3 separate regions of the Homo sapiens genome follow, and all the other regions are linked to region 1. The links are contacts of gene promoters, found by promoter capture Hi-C in blood cells and fetal thymus (Javierre and others, 2016). All regions are on one chromosome and are shown on one strand. The core of a region is centred on a gene start or on the middle of the fragment in contact, and the rest is flanking DNA. Distances in the headings are between cores, read along the strand shown.

Region 1 (4,127 bases), core at 1,036-3,535:
TCTTTCACTGCTAATCTTCCTATATCTTATAAATGGATTAGTTTTACAGTATAGTCATCTCAACCCAAAATGGAAAATCATTACATTCCTTATCCCTTTATCTCCACATTGAATTGATCTCTAAGCCTTAAGATCATATATGATCCCTCAACATTTTGTCCCTTCCTGCTGGTTCAGGTGTTCAGCATTTGCCCCTGTACTATCGATCATGTCACATGCATGCTTCAGCCTTCCAGTTCTTGTCCATTGCCTAGGATAAGATCTGAAGAACTTTGTATGGCCCAGGAGACTGACCTTTGCTTATCTCATTAAGTTTCCTACTGTTCCGTTTCTCCCATTCCCAGCCCTACCTTCCAGACATGTTAGACTATCCTGACATTTTCCCCAAATTGCCATGCTCCTCTTTCCACATATACATGTGCCTGGAGAACTATTCCCACTTACATGCCTTGAGAGCTAATATTTAGCTTTAAGACCCAGTTCCCTGGTGCTTATTGACACCACCCCTCCCTCACAGACTTACACATGTCTTCTGCACTCCACAGTGCCCCAGTGCTTCCATATATCTGGATATGTGTCCATTTCTACAATATGATAACAGGCAGCACATTTTATTGCAAGTCTTTGATTTTCCTGCCTCCTCTTGTGGTTTATTAACTCCTTCATGGTAGGGACTATATTTGACTTACATTTGCTTTCTTAGTCTTCTGCAAAATGCTTGACACCCAGAAGGTGTTGAGTAAATATTTGATGAATCAGGACAAGTGAACAAGGACACAACCTCCATGTGGGAACAGACTGTTGCATGACCTTTCCTCCTATACCCATGCACGTGACGGCGCTCCTTTAATGTGGAGTTGATTGGTTGATTAACCCATTAAACACTTATACAGCACCTGGTAGGTTACAAGCATTTTGAGCAGATATACAAAAAAGCCCATTTGTTTACAAGCTGTGTCTTTAAGAAAATTACTCTTCCAGTACAGAAAGCAGCCATATTCCATTTTGATGATTCATTCCTACTGATGAATGTAAAGTAGAAGGAAGAGTGGTTATAGCTGATGGCAGACACACCATAGTGAGGCTTTTGCTGTAACTCAGTGGCCTTTCATGTCCTGGGCCCTCTCCTCATGATGGGCCTGTCCTTATCTTCGTTTCAGCCTGGGAAGGCTGGTGTGCCTTTACTGGGCCTGACTAGGGCAGCCATAAGTAAGTGCTGCTGCAGACCAGAACATGGCCAGGACACAGGCAGGCACACAAGTCAGAGGAGTGTGATGTGTTGGGACAGACCAGGTAAGGATGATGCAGGGAAGGCGTGTTGGGAATCATGGAGCCCTCTAATCTTTGTCTCTCCCTAAGGCTCTAGCTCACACAGGGCTTCTGCTCCTCATCCCAAAGGAAGACAAGCTCCTTTTTATCTCTTCCCTTTCCAAAACCCACTCTCAAAAGAGAATCTAAACTGTATCCACTGTAAATGATAAAATATATAATAGCTTAAAGATTATTAATTTTTTGTCCAGTGGGTCTTCCTGTCTAAACAGCATAGAGAGATTTAGACTAATGTTCTATATAGCCAGTTAAATACCTGGGATTATGTTCTAGGAAAGAGATAAAAAACTAAGGCTAACTGAAGCTCCTAAAATTTTATCAGGAAGGTGGTTATCTTCTTTCTCCACCAAGTTGGACAACAGGGAGTGGAGGAGAAACAGTCAGGGAGGACAGAAGATCAGTGGCAGAGGACCAGGTAGAGCTTAGATTAATAGAACGTCTGGGGTCAGCCCTTAATTAAGGAGAATGAAGTCGTGCAGGAAGTGCTCAGGAGAAGAAATTACTTTGAGTGCTGTGTGACAGGACCTTGTATGAGGTAAATACTTGGGTGCAAAAAAGGACAAGGACAAGGAACGTGTCCTGGGTCTGTGCCTTCTGCATGAGAACACCCTTGCACGTCCCCTAACAGGAGGATCAGAGAGAAGGGGAAGGGAAGAGGGGAGAGGCAAAAAAAAAAAAGAAAGAAAGAAAGAAAAAAAGAGCGAGAAAGAAAGAGAGAGAGAGAGAGAAAGGAAGGAAGGAAGGAAGAAAGAGAGAGAGAGGGAGGGAGGAGGAAGGAAAAAGAGAGAGAGAAAGAAAGAGAGAAAAAGAGAAAGAGAGAAAGAAAAGGCTGGAGGCACTCACAGAAATCCTTCTGGCCCCCAGCGAAGGCTAAGGAGGGACTGGGCGGGCGTTGGGAGGAGCCTCGGAAGCAACCTCTGAGCAGCCGCCTCTGAGCACGATGGGAAAATCCTTCCTCCCTCGGACATGGCGCTCACCTGCCCGGCCGCAGCAGCCGGCTCCGGCGCCGCGGTTCGCGGGTCCGGGCGGAAGAGCAGCTCCAGCTTCAAACGTGGGGTGGAAGGAGGCGGCGGGGGCGACGGCGGCGGCGACGGCGGGGGCGCGGCCCGCGGGCCCGGGTGTTAGACCTGAGGGAGCCTGGAGATCCGGCCGGGGCGCGCAGGGTGCAGCGGGGCGCTCACCAGCCCCGGGGCGCAGCCGGCATGGTGTCCCAGGTGCTGCAGCTGCTCCGGCAGGGCGTGTGGGCCGCGCTCACCGGGGGCTGGTACCACGACCCGGAGCAGAGCAAGTTCACCAACAGCTGCCACCTCTACCTGTGGCTGTTCCTCCTGCTGCTGCCCCTGGCCCTGCACCTGGTGAGTGGGGAGGGTCCGGTCCCGGGGAGCTGTGGGTATGGAGGGAAGAAGGAGAAAGGAACCACAGACGTGCCATCAGCCTCACGGGCTTTCGGGTTCGTAGAGATTCTTAAGAGACGGAAAGGGAGGGGCTTCAGAAATTTGGGACAGAGAACATGCAGGGAAAGGGGACTGTGAGGATTCACTGGAAAAGAAAAGAAGTAGACAGGACTGCGGGGGCTCGGGGACTCATTAAGAATTGATGCCGGATGTTAGGATGAGTCACTCTGCTTGTGGCAGGGAGCGTGCAGCCTGTTTTGTAGGTGGGTAACTCTAGGCCTTAGAGCTGGGTAGCTTGGGATAATGTTTGGTGTGAAATGCTGTAGATTGTAGCCAAGAGGAAAAACGAAATGTAAAAAGCAGACTCATTTCAGTTATTGTCCCCTTTTTCCCCCCTCACCTTCTTTCTTGTTTTGCTTTGAGAAGGCAGTTCAGTTATCAGTTACTCACATTGTAATTTCTACACCACTATGTATAGAAATCTGTAGGAAGATATAATAATGGATAAATCTAATGTACTTTATGCTAAACAAAGTATTACAACATTTAGATGGGGCTTGACATTTTAGTGGGGTTATGGTAAGTGAGTGCTTGCTGAAGAACTACATAGATGGCCTTCTTAGGTAAATTATACGTAATTAAAACAATGGTTTACCTGCTTTGAAAAGCTGTACAGGTAAGGTGTTCCATGTCTTATTAAACTTTACGTGCCAAGAATCTAATTTTGGTATGTCGGTTGGAGGACTTTATTCCTAACACATTATTTGATCATTTTTTTTACAGCAAAAATCGTCAATGAGTTTGCATGACTGATGGATTCCGAGTTTGACATTTGTGATTGGGTTTCTCTTTACTCTTTTTCCGGCAGTGTATCCAAAGGGTCAGAACTCTGGGTGTGAAGTCATGATGCCTAGGTTAAATTTTGGGTCTACTGGTTACCAGTTCTGTGACCTTGGGGAGGTTATTTACCATATCTCATTTTTCATTTTCTTATCTGTAAAATGAGAAAAAGTAATAGTACCAGATTTACAGATTGTTTTAGGGATTAAATGAGATAGTACATATAAAGCCACAGGTCTGTCTTGACCTGAGATTGGACTCAGGCCTTGGGTTTACAATTCTGTTCTGCTACTTATTAGCTGTTTGGTCTGATACTGAACTTTTCTAAAACTTAGCATTCATATCATTAAAACGGATGTGATCATCACAATCACCACTTCACAGAAAAATTAACCAAAATTATATATAAAAAGCATTAAATACAGAAACTGCTTGGAAACCCTGCAATAAATGCAAGTTTATTTCTTCTTTCTGATTCTCCGCACCATTTTTCTTAACCCATTTTTCCTTAGCCTATGGGCCCCAGTGGTTTCTCTTTTCCTAGAGGGACAGCATAGCAAAGTC
Region 2 (4,127 bases), core at 511-3,010, 1.0 Mb before region 1:
ACTCTGTTACAAATTATGTTTAATTATTTTGAAAGTTTAAAAAAGTCAATAAACATTTATATTTTACTGTTTGTATGGGATTCTGCTGTGTGCCTAGGGAAATAGAATAAGAAGCACAAAGCAAGATTTTCTTTTCCTTTCAAGGATATTTACATCTAGAAGGGGAGGTAAGTCTTCACTCTAGTGTAAGGCAGAAGAGACAGAGAAATTGTGGCAGTGGGGAGTGTCACCAAGTAGGAATATTAATTCTTGTGGGGAGAATGAGGAAGTTTCATTAAGGAGGAAACATGTATAGTAGATATTTCAGGACATGTAGGGTTTGGTTAGGCAGAAAGAGAGGGAAGGGGAGGAAGGATCCCATGTGGAATAAACCATGTTACCAGGACAAGAGAGGATAGGATATATTAGAGAAATAGTGAACAGTCCTATGTGGTTGGAGGGCAGGAGACAGTGGTAGTTGCAGTGACACATGAGTTGGAAAGGTCACCAACTGCCAAATTATGGAGGGCCTTGAGTCCAGGGTAGGGAATGAAGGTTTATTTAATAAAGTACAGGAAGCTACTCAAGATCTTTGCATAAGAAAGTGAAGCAATCCCAGCTCAACAGGGTGTAGAGAATGATCAGGAGACTGACTATGCCCTAGGTGGTGTGTCCTGGGGTATAAAGTAGGGTGGTGGTAGAGGAGAGGCTTCTAGAGATGCTTTGCAGTTATAATGAAACTGCCTTGGAGTGTATGGCACAGTGATTGCTAGTGTAGGAGTAAGGAAGAAGTTAAAGACCAGTATTAAGATTTTATGCTTGGGAAAATAAGATAATCATGATGCCAATTCACATCAATAGGTTAAGAAGGAGGAATAGGTTTTTGAGTGAGATAATTGTGTGTTTAGTTTTGGACATGTTAAGATGGAGGGGTTGCTAGGATACATTGGGAGGAATGTCTGGAAGATAGTGAAAAACTCAGATTTGAAGTTTGGCAGAGAAGATTTGAAAGTGATTTTCAAAGAGGTAAAAATTAAAGACACAAAACTGCATGAAAATGAGGGTGAATGTGGCCTTGGATGGAAAGGGATGGACACCCCCATGTGATGGGAGTAGACAAAGGAGAGACTGGGAGAGGGGGAAACAGGGAGAGTGGGAGAGATATTGTAGAATGAGAACCAGAGAAATACAGCCACAACCCTGGCTGACACGCTCTTGCTCAAGCTTGGCAGCCCTGCCGTGATGATGATGCTGGTGATGATGATGTAAATGCTATCACTGATTGAGCAACTACTTATGTCTAGAGATTGTGCTAAGCTTCTATATGTATGACTTTGTTTTACTTTGACAACCTTGTATGGCAGAGTTGATTATTAGCCTCATATTACAGGTGAGAAAACTGAGACTCAGAGATGTCAAGTGACTTGACCAAGGAGATAAAACTATAAATGGTAGAGCTGGGCTTTGAATCCAGTTCTATCTGCTTGCAAATTTCATTTTATTAACCATTGCACTGTTCTGTCATACCACTGCACCTGAATCTGGAGAGATTTCTATTTTTAAGAATTTGAAAACAAAGATTATCAACTAAGGAAAAGAGACTAACTTCTAGAAACACATAGATGATAAAGTGGGCATCAGTGTGTGCTGAATTCATCCAGGTGTGAGATCAAATGATATATTTTTGGTGTGAAAATTCATTCTAAATGAAAAGACTATGCACTGTTCTCTTTCTCTTTCTTTCTCAGAGTTTCACTCTGTTGCCAGGCTAGAGTGCAGTGGCACAATCTTAGCTCACTGCAGCCTCAATCTCCTGGACCTTCCTTGGCCTCCCAAAGTGTTGGGATTACAGGCATGAGCCATGTGCCTGGCCAAACCTCCATTTCTGATTGTTCAGGGAGTGAGGGTGGCTGCGTACATTATTTGTCGACCTAGGATTTAGAAATATGGACAAGTGTGCATGACCCACAGTGAACGCTTCAGAGGATGAGAGGTGAGTCATTGAGTCCATGGGGAGCTGACGGGACTTTGTCTGGCTGTGTGAAAGCACTTTCTCTCAGCTAAAAAGGAAATTAAATGCTATCAGAAAATTGAGATAAAATTTAGATAAAAGTAACCCATAGAACCTGTGATGTAATAATGGCCTTGGGACAGTCAAATCTGGGGGGGCAGTTAAATGTCCAAATGTACTTTGGACTTTAAGGTGGTGCTAGTGGTAAGATTTGAATTTTTTAAATTAAGCTTTGGAGAAAAACACCATGGTCAACCTAAGAGGTAACTCTTGGCGGGGCGCCGTGGCTCACGCCTGTAATCCCAGCACTTTGGGAGGCCGAGGCGGGCGGATCATGAGGTCAGGAGATCAAGACCATCCTGGCTAACACGGTGAAACCCTGTCTCTACTAAAAATACAAAAAATTAGCCGGGTGTTGTGGCGGGCACCTGTAGTCCCACCTACTCTGGAGGCTGAGGGAGGAGAATGGCGTGAACCCAGGAGGCAGAGCTTGCAGTGAGCCGAGATTGTGCCACTGCACTCCAGCCTGGGCGACAGAGCGAGTCTCCGTCTCAGAAAAAAAAAAAAAAAAAAAAAAGAGGAAGAGGTAACTCTTGCAATAGGGGAATGAAGAAAGTCGCCAGATTGCACCTTGATGATTATATGTCTGTTTCTAAATGATATCATTTAAAAGAGGTAGTGATTATTGTATGGTGATTAGTTTACAGGGATCATTTATTTAAACAAATAGCAATAGTCTAATTGGTGGGAAAGAGATACTAATCAAAAACAACACAGTAAATGTGGCAAACGCACACACATACGCACACATGGTATCTTTGAGGAAATTCAACATACGGGACAGGACCATACAGCAAGCTACCGACACTGCACACATAATTGCAAAATCCTAAAAAGGTGCTAGACTCTCAGCCTCCCCACAAGGAAGACATGCCGGAAATTCAATTTTTCACCATGTGAATGAAAGCAGATAACAGAGGGAAAGCAGGAGCACTGGGGGAATAGCTATATCTAGTTGGTGTGACAGGGTTTACAGTTCCCATCAATGAAGATGCCAAAAGAGAGTGGTCTGAGGACAAAATAAAATTAGTTTAAAAAGTTATACTCTAATCCTTGATAAACAGGTATAAATTAAAAAAAGAGCACCACTGTGATGCACGGATAGGTTTTCTTTTATTTATTTATTTATTGAGACGGGGTTTCACCATGCTGCCCAGGCTGGTCTTGAACTCGAGCTCAAGTGATCCACCCACCTCTGCCTCCCAAATTGTTGGGATTACAGGCATGAGCCACTGCATCCAGCTGGGTTTCTTTTTTTATTTTACTTTGTTTTATTTTTTTTGAGACAGGGTCTCACTCTGTCACCCAGACTGGAGTGCAGTGGCATGATCTTGGCTCACTGCAACCTCTGCCTCCCGAGTTCAAACGATTCTCCTGTCTCAGCCTCCCGAGTAGCTGGGATTACAGGCACCCACCACCATACCTGGCTAATTTTTGTATTTTTAGTAAAGACGGAGTTTCACCATGTTGGCCGGGCTGGTCTCGAACTCCTAGCCTCAAATGATCCACCTGCCTCGGCCTCCCAAAGTTCTGGGATTATAGGTGTGAGCCACTGCGCCCGACCGGGTTTCTTTTTTTAACCCCCATATGGTCCCACTCTTGCTGTGTGGAGACTGGCCTGGAAGTTTAAACAAACCCTCAGGGTTCAAACACTTCCCAGTCTGAGCAGCAGTGATGTGAGCCACCTCCTCGTCTTGCTTCTCTGGCTCGCCACTGCAAAGCTGCACGTTGAAGATGGGAGAGGTGCAGGGAGGAGGAGTGTGGGTCCCTGAGTCATGTCTCAGCCAGTGTTCTCTGGTGCGGCCTTCCATCCCCATTCCCACTTCCGTGGGCGGGTAGGAAGAGGGTCTTAGAAACAGCGGTTCCAGTGGCTGTCTCTCCCTAGCCTCTGAGATCCCCCTATGACATGCATACCACAAATTCTGAACAAATTAAAAGGCTTAGGTGGCCAAATGCTCTTCTATTCCCAATAAGAAATAAACTCCGGGGATTTCTGGAATTTCCTTCTGGAGGTTTGTAATTTCCTCTAATGTTTTTCTTCTGGCAAGAGCCTCTCCTTAGTGTCTTTTCTGTGGGG
Region 3 (4,127 bases), core at 1,107-3,606, 1.0 Mb before region 1:
TTTATTTCCTATAGCAAGTTTTTTTTTTTTTAAGCAAATATAGGAAGGGGCAGGGTTTTAAAATTTATTATTTTTAATAAACATCTTTCTATTAAAGCCCTTCAACCTATTGCTTTAGTCCACTGAAACAAATGTTGCACAGTGATCTAATGTCACAGATTCTTCCTTCTGTTCATGTTAAGCTTGGAATTTATGGTTCTATACAGAAGGTAATGTTGGTGTGTTATCTGACCCGAAGGCCTAATTCTATGGTGATTGACTGAGGGATTCTGTCACTTGCTGAGTAAGAGAAGGGGGTCACTAAACCTTTTTTGGGGTGGGGGTTGTGGGAGAAGGACGGTAATGGAGGAGGATGGATACTCTGGGGGTGGGGGTTGTGGGAGAAGGACGGTAATGGAGGAGGATGGATACTCTGGGGGTGGGGGTTGTGGGAGAAGGACGGTAATGGAGGAGGATGGATACTCTGGGGAAGACAGGGTGTCTAATCTTTTGGCTTTTCTGGGTCACATTAGAAAAAGAATTGTCTTAGGCCACATACAAACTACACTAACACTAACGATAGCTGATGAGCTACAAAAAGAAATCGCAAAAAAAAAAATCTCATAATGTTTTAAGAAAGTTTACAAATTTGTGTTGGGCCTCATTCAAAGCCAGCCTGGACCACATGTGGCCTGTGGGACGGGGGTTGGACAAGCTTGCTCTAAGAGAACACATTGAAACATAGTTTTAAAAAATGTTGCCCTCAGTTGGAATTATCTTTGTGATCAGGCAGGGGCAGTCACTTCTTGGGTATATCTAATACATTTTGGCTATGATACAAATAGTGTTAACTCGTGACCTATTTTCTCCCTGAGGCCATTTTTAGGGTACCTATTCCACCATGTGGAAGCCCCACTTCTCTAAGACACTATCTAGCACAGGAAGAATAAGCAGATCCAAAAGTTCAGAGTCTAACGCGGGAATGAGATGAGGAAACATCTGTAGAAGAAAGTCTTTTGATGCCGTTCTAGAGTCTAGGGGGAAGGATCACAGATAGTTCAAAAAATCTTTAAGAAAATTAAAGCCAGTCTTCTACATGCAGAAGAAGGAAGTAGAGGAGGCCGTGGGGAGCTCGGGTGTGGAGAAAGGCCACTGAGAAGGCTTGGTTGACAGCTGCCTCTTTCCTTGACTGTTGGGGAGTGAAGATCATTGCTGGGTTGGGCCCGATGAGCTAGGCAAGGAGATGGACAAGTGAGGAGGCACTGCTTCATGGAAGTCCCTGTCCAGGCTCATGGACATGGTGCTGCACTGCCACAGCTGGGGATGGCCTGCCAGCCAGGAAGGGAGTCAGCCTGCTAGTGATCTAGAAATAGACTCAGTCCCAAATGAACTGCCACGAGAACAAAAGAAAAGACATCTCTAGAATAAACCAAATGCACTAGGTTGGGGGAATAGCTCTGGTCTGTGCCACTTAATATTAAAATGCAGAGAAAAAGGAGGAAAATTAAAAACAAGAGTCAAAGGGGATTGGGTAAGATTTTAAATTTAATTTTACTGTCTAGTCTTCCTATCAATCTAGAAGGAAATCTGTCTTTGTTCATGACTCAACTATGGGATGTCCATAGCAGGAACAGGAAAACTCCTTAGAGAAAGGCATGAGAGCCTGGGATATTGAGAGAGGAGAAACACACTTACCGTTTTGTGGAGTCTGGTGCAGTTTGGCCACCTCTCTCTGTACACAGAGTCCTATGTTGCTTCTGAACAAACCGGGGCCAGGTAAAACATTCACTTCACTAAATTTATCATGAAACCGATTCAACTGAATTGATTCCATTTTGGCTTTATATAGCTGCAACCCTCATCTAACTGAGAGGCTGATATTTCTGTTTGCCATGTAATTTTCATACAATATTCCAGCTACATTTTCTATGGGGTTTTCCCAAGCCCCTGTTTGCAGAACAGTCTGTTCCCCCAGGGGCAGTGACCGTGAATGATGGCTTCCTTTATGTTTGTGATTATGGTGGCTACAAAGTGATGCTGGTCCATTGAGTATGACCAAAATAAAATACAAATATTCTTTCTGGCCATTAATGTCAATCTATCTCCACTATACTTAGAGGTTTCCCTTTCTAAGAGAAGAACATCATGCAAGCAGAATTTCCAAGTTCCACCTGGCTCACTGTCATGAAAAACAATTCATCTTCTGGAAGGGGCCATCCAAGGCTAACTGGGCAACCTACTTCCTCTTTGAAAATCCATATTTGACTCCTCCAAAGCCTGATCATTGTAGATGGGATGGAGAAGGGAGGTAGGGCACAGATATGGCTTGGTATTGATGGCCCAAGTTGCTGGAAATGGGGAGAGAGTGGGGATCCCATCCTGGAGATGAAAAAGGTGAGACTCTGAGGCCTGGCAGAGTCCTGCTGGCCCTTTAAGGCCTCATGGCCAGGAGATCACAGCTTAGGTTGGTAGGTCTTGGTTCTAATGAGACCAAGACAATTGGCCCCCTGGACTGGTGAGCTTTGTGATATTTTGAGACCAAAGACTATGCACTAATCTTCAGTGCTAAGAGATTAGCGCACAGTCTTCGGTCTTAAAATAGCATAATATTGGCCGGCAGCGGTGGCTCACACCTGTAATCCTAGCACTTTGAGAGGCCGAGGCGGGTCAGCTGAGGTCAGGAGTTTGAGACAAGCCTGGCCAACATGGTGAAACCCTGTCTCTACTAAAAATTCAAAAATTAGTCAGGCATGGTGGTGAGCACCGGTAATCCCAGCTACTCGGGAGCCTGAGGCAGGAGAATCACTTGAACCCGGGAGGCGGAGGTTGCAGTGAGCTGAGATTGCACCATTGCACTCCAGCCTAAGTGACAAGAGTGAAACTCCATCTCAAAAAACAAACAAACAAAAAAACCCAGCACAATATCTCAGGATCTGGCTGGCCCATGTACGTCCTTGATTGCAAGGGAACCCAAGACAGATGATGAACATGAATCCATTTCTGCCAGAGACCTCCCTCTTCTTGGTATACAAATGGAGCACAGTCAACACTCTCTTGACTGACGCCCACATTACTGACGGGACAGTCTAACACCCTTCATTCCTTCTGCTCACTGATGCTGCTGGCAGGCTTAAGACTAGAGGGTGGCAGGTTACTTCCAGAACACTCAAGTCCTTCTGTTCCTATGGATTGAGTCACATACAAAGATTAGATGTATTTACTTCTGATCCTGCTTGTGCCAGTTAGCTGTTCTTGGTATTTCAATTACACGGTTTAATTAAGTATTTCATAAACCAATGAAATATGAGTGGGAAACGAAAACTTTTTTTCCATGAAATCTAAATTGAGAGCTTCAAGAAAGACTTAATAAAAATAAGCAATACTAGGCTGGGGGTGGTGGCTCACGCCTGTAATCCCAGCACTTTGGGAGGCCAAGGTGGGTGGATCACAGGGTCAGGAGATCGAGACCAGCCTGACCAACATGGTGAAACCCCATTTCTACTAAAAACACAAAAAAATTAGCCAGGCATGGTGGTGCGCGCCTGTAGTCCCAGCTACTTGGGAGACTGAGGGAGGGGAATCGCTTGAACCTGGAAGGCGGAGGTTGCAGTGAGCCAAGGTGGTGCCACTGCATTCTAGCCTGGTGACAGAGCAAGACTCTGTCTCAAAAAAAAAAAAAAAAAAGCAATACTGCTACTGAATATTTAATTATTCAATAGAATTATTCAAAGAAACATGGTAAAAGAAAAAATGGTAAAAATCTATAAGTTCTGCACTCATATTATTTGACAAATACTTACATACTTATGTTCTTAGTACTCTTTAAAGAATCCTAGCTGGGATAGCCTGTCTTGACTTCATATTCTAACTTTTCTATGAATTTCTAAAATTTGGTTATATCACACATTTAGGGATGAGGATGGCTTATCATTTAATTCATATCAACAAACACTGGTTTAGCACTTGCCATTCCCACAATTCTAGACAAGGCCTTGTGGCTGATACAGAAAAGTAAACTTTTCAAGCTAAGGAAGCTTTTCTTTTAAACTAAGATGAATTATTTCTTTTGTAATTTCCTCCACTTCAGTTTTTCTATTTAGTTTTTTTCTATTTCAGTTTTTCTGGTGCTTCTTTTAGTTTGATATTGG

What was found. Contacts are between HindIII fragments. The CHiCAGO score rates a contact against its expected background, and 5 or more counts as called.
Region 2: a contact is called between a fragment that was not itself captured here and the fragment with the promoter of PCNX2 in region 1, in 1 of 17 cell types (total CD8 T cells). The highest score is 5.7, in total CD8 T cells.
Region 3: a fragment that was not itself captured here is called in contact with the fragment with the promoter of PCNX2 in region 1 in 3 of 17 cell types (naive B cells, total B cells and total CD8 T cells); the score reaches 7.4 in naive B cells.

What each region holds. Positions count from the first base shown.
Region 1 is chr1:233,293,883-233,298,009 of GRCh38, reverse strand. PCNX2 (pecanex 2) reads left to right here and starts at 2,285. Exons shown (of 34, transcript NM_014801.4): 1 at 2,285-2,684. The coding sequence starts at 2,532. RefSeq lists a silencer at 2,190-2,569 and an enhancer at 2,850-2,899. The HindIII fragment of the contact is 4,266 bases long and covers 1-4,127 here.
Region 2 is chr1:234,328,820-234,332,946 of GRCh38, reverse strand. No RefSeq gene overlaps it. Among named protein-coding and RNA genes, the nearest start is that of MIR4671, 24 kb to the right of the region's middle. The HindIII fragment of the contact is 924 bases long and covers 1,299-2,222 here.
Region 3 is chr1:234,304,920-234,309,046 of GRCh38, reverse strand. All of the region lies in intron 3 of SLC35F3 (solute carrier family 35 member F3), which reads right to left. It overlaps MIR4671 (microRNA 4671), which reads right to left and starts at 2,580; the gene lies at 2,508-2,580. The HindIII fragment of the contact is 3,319 bases long and covers 697-4,015 here.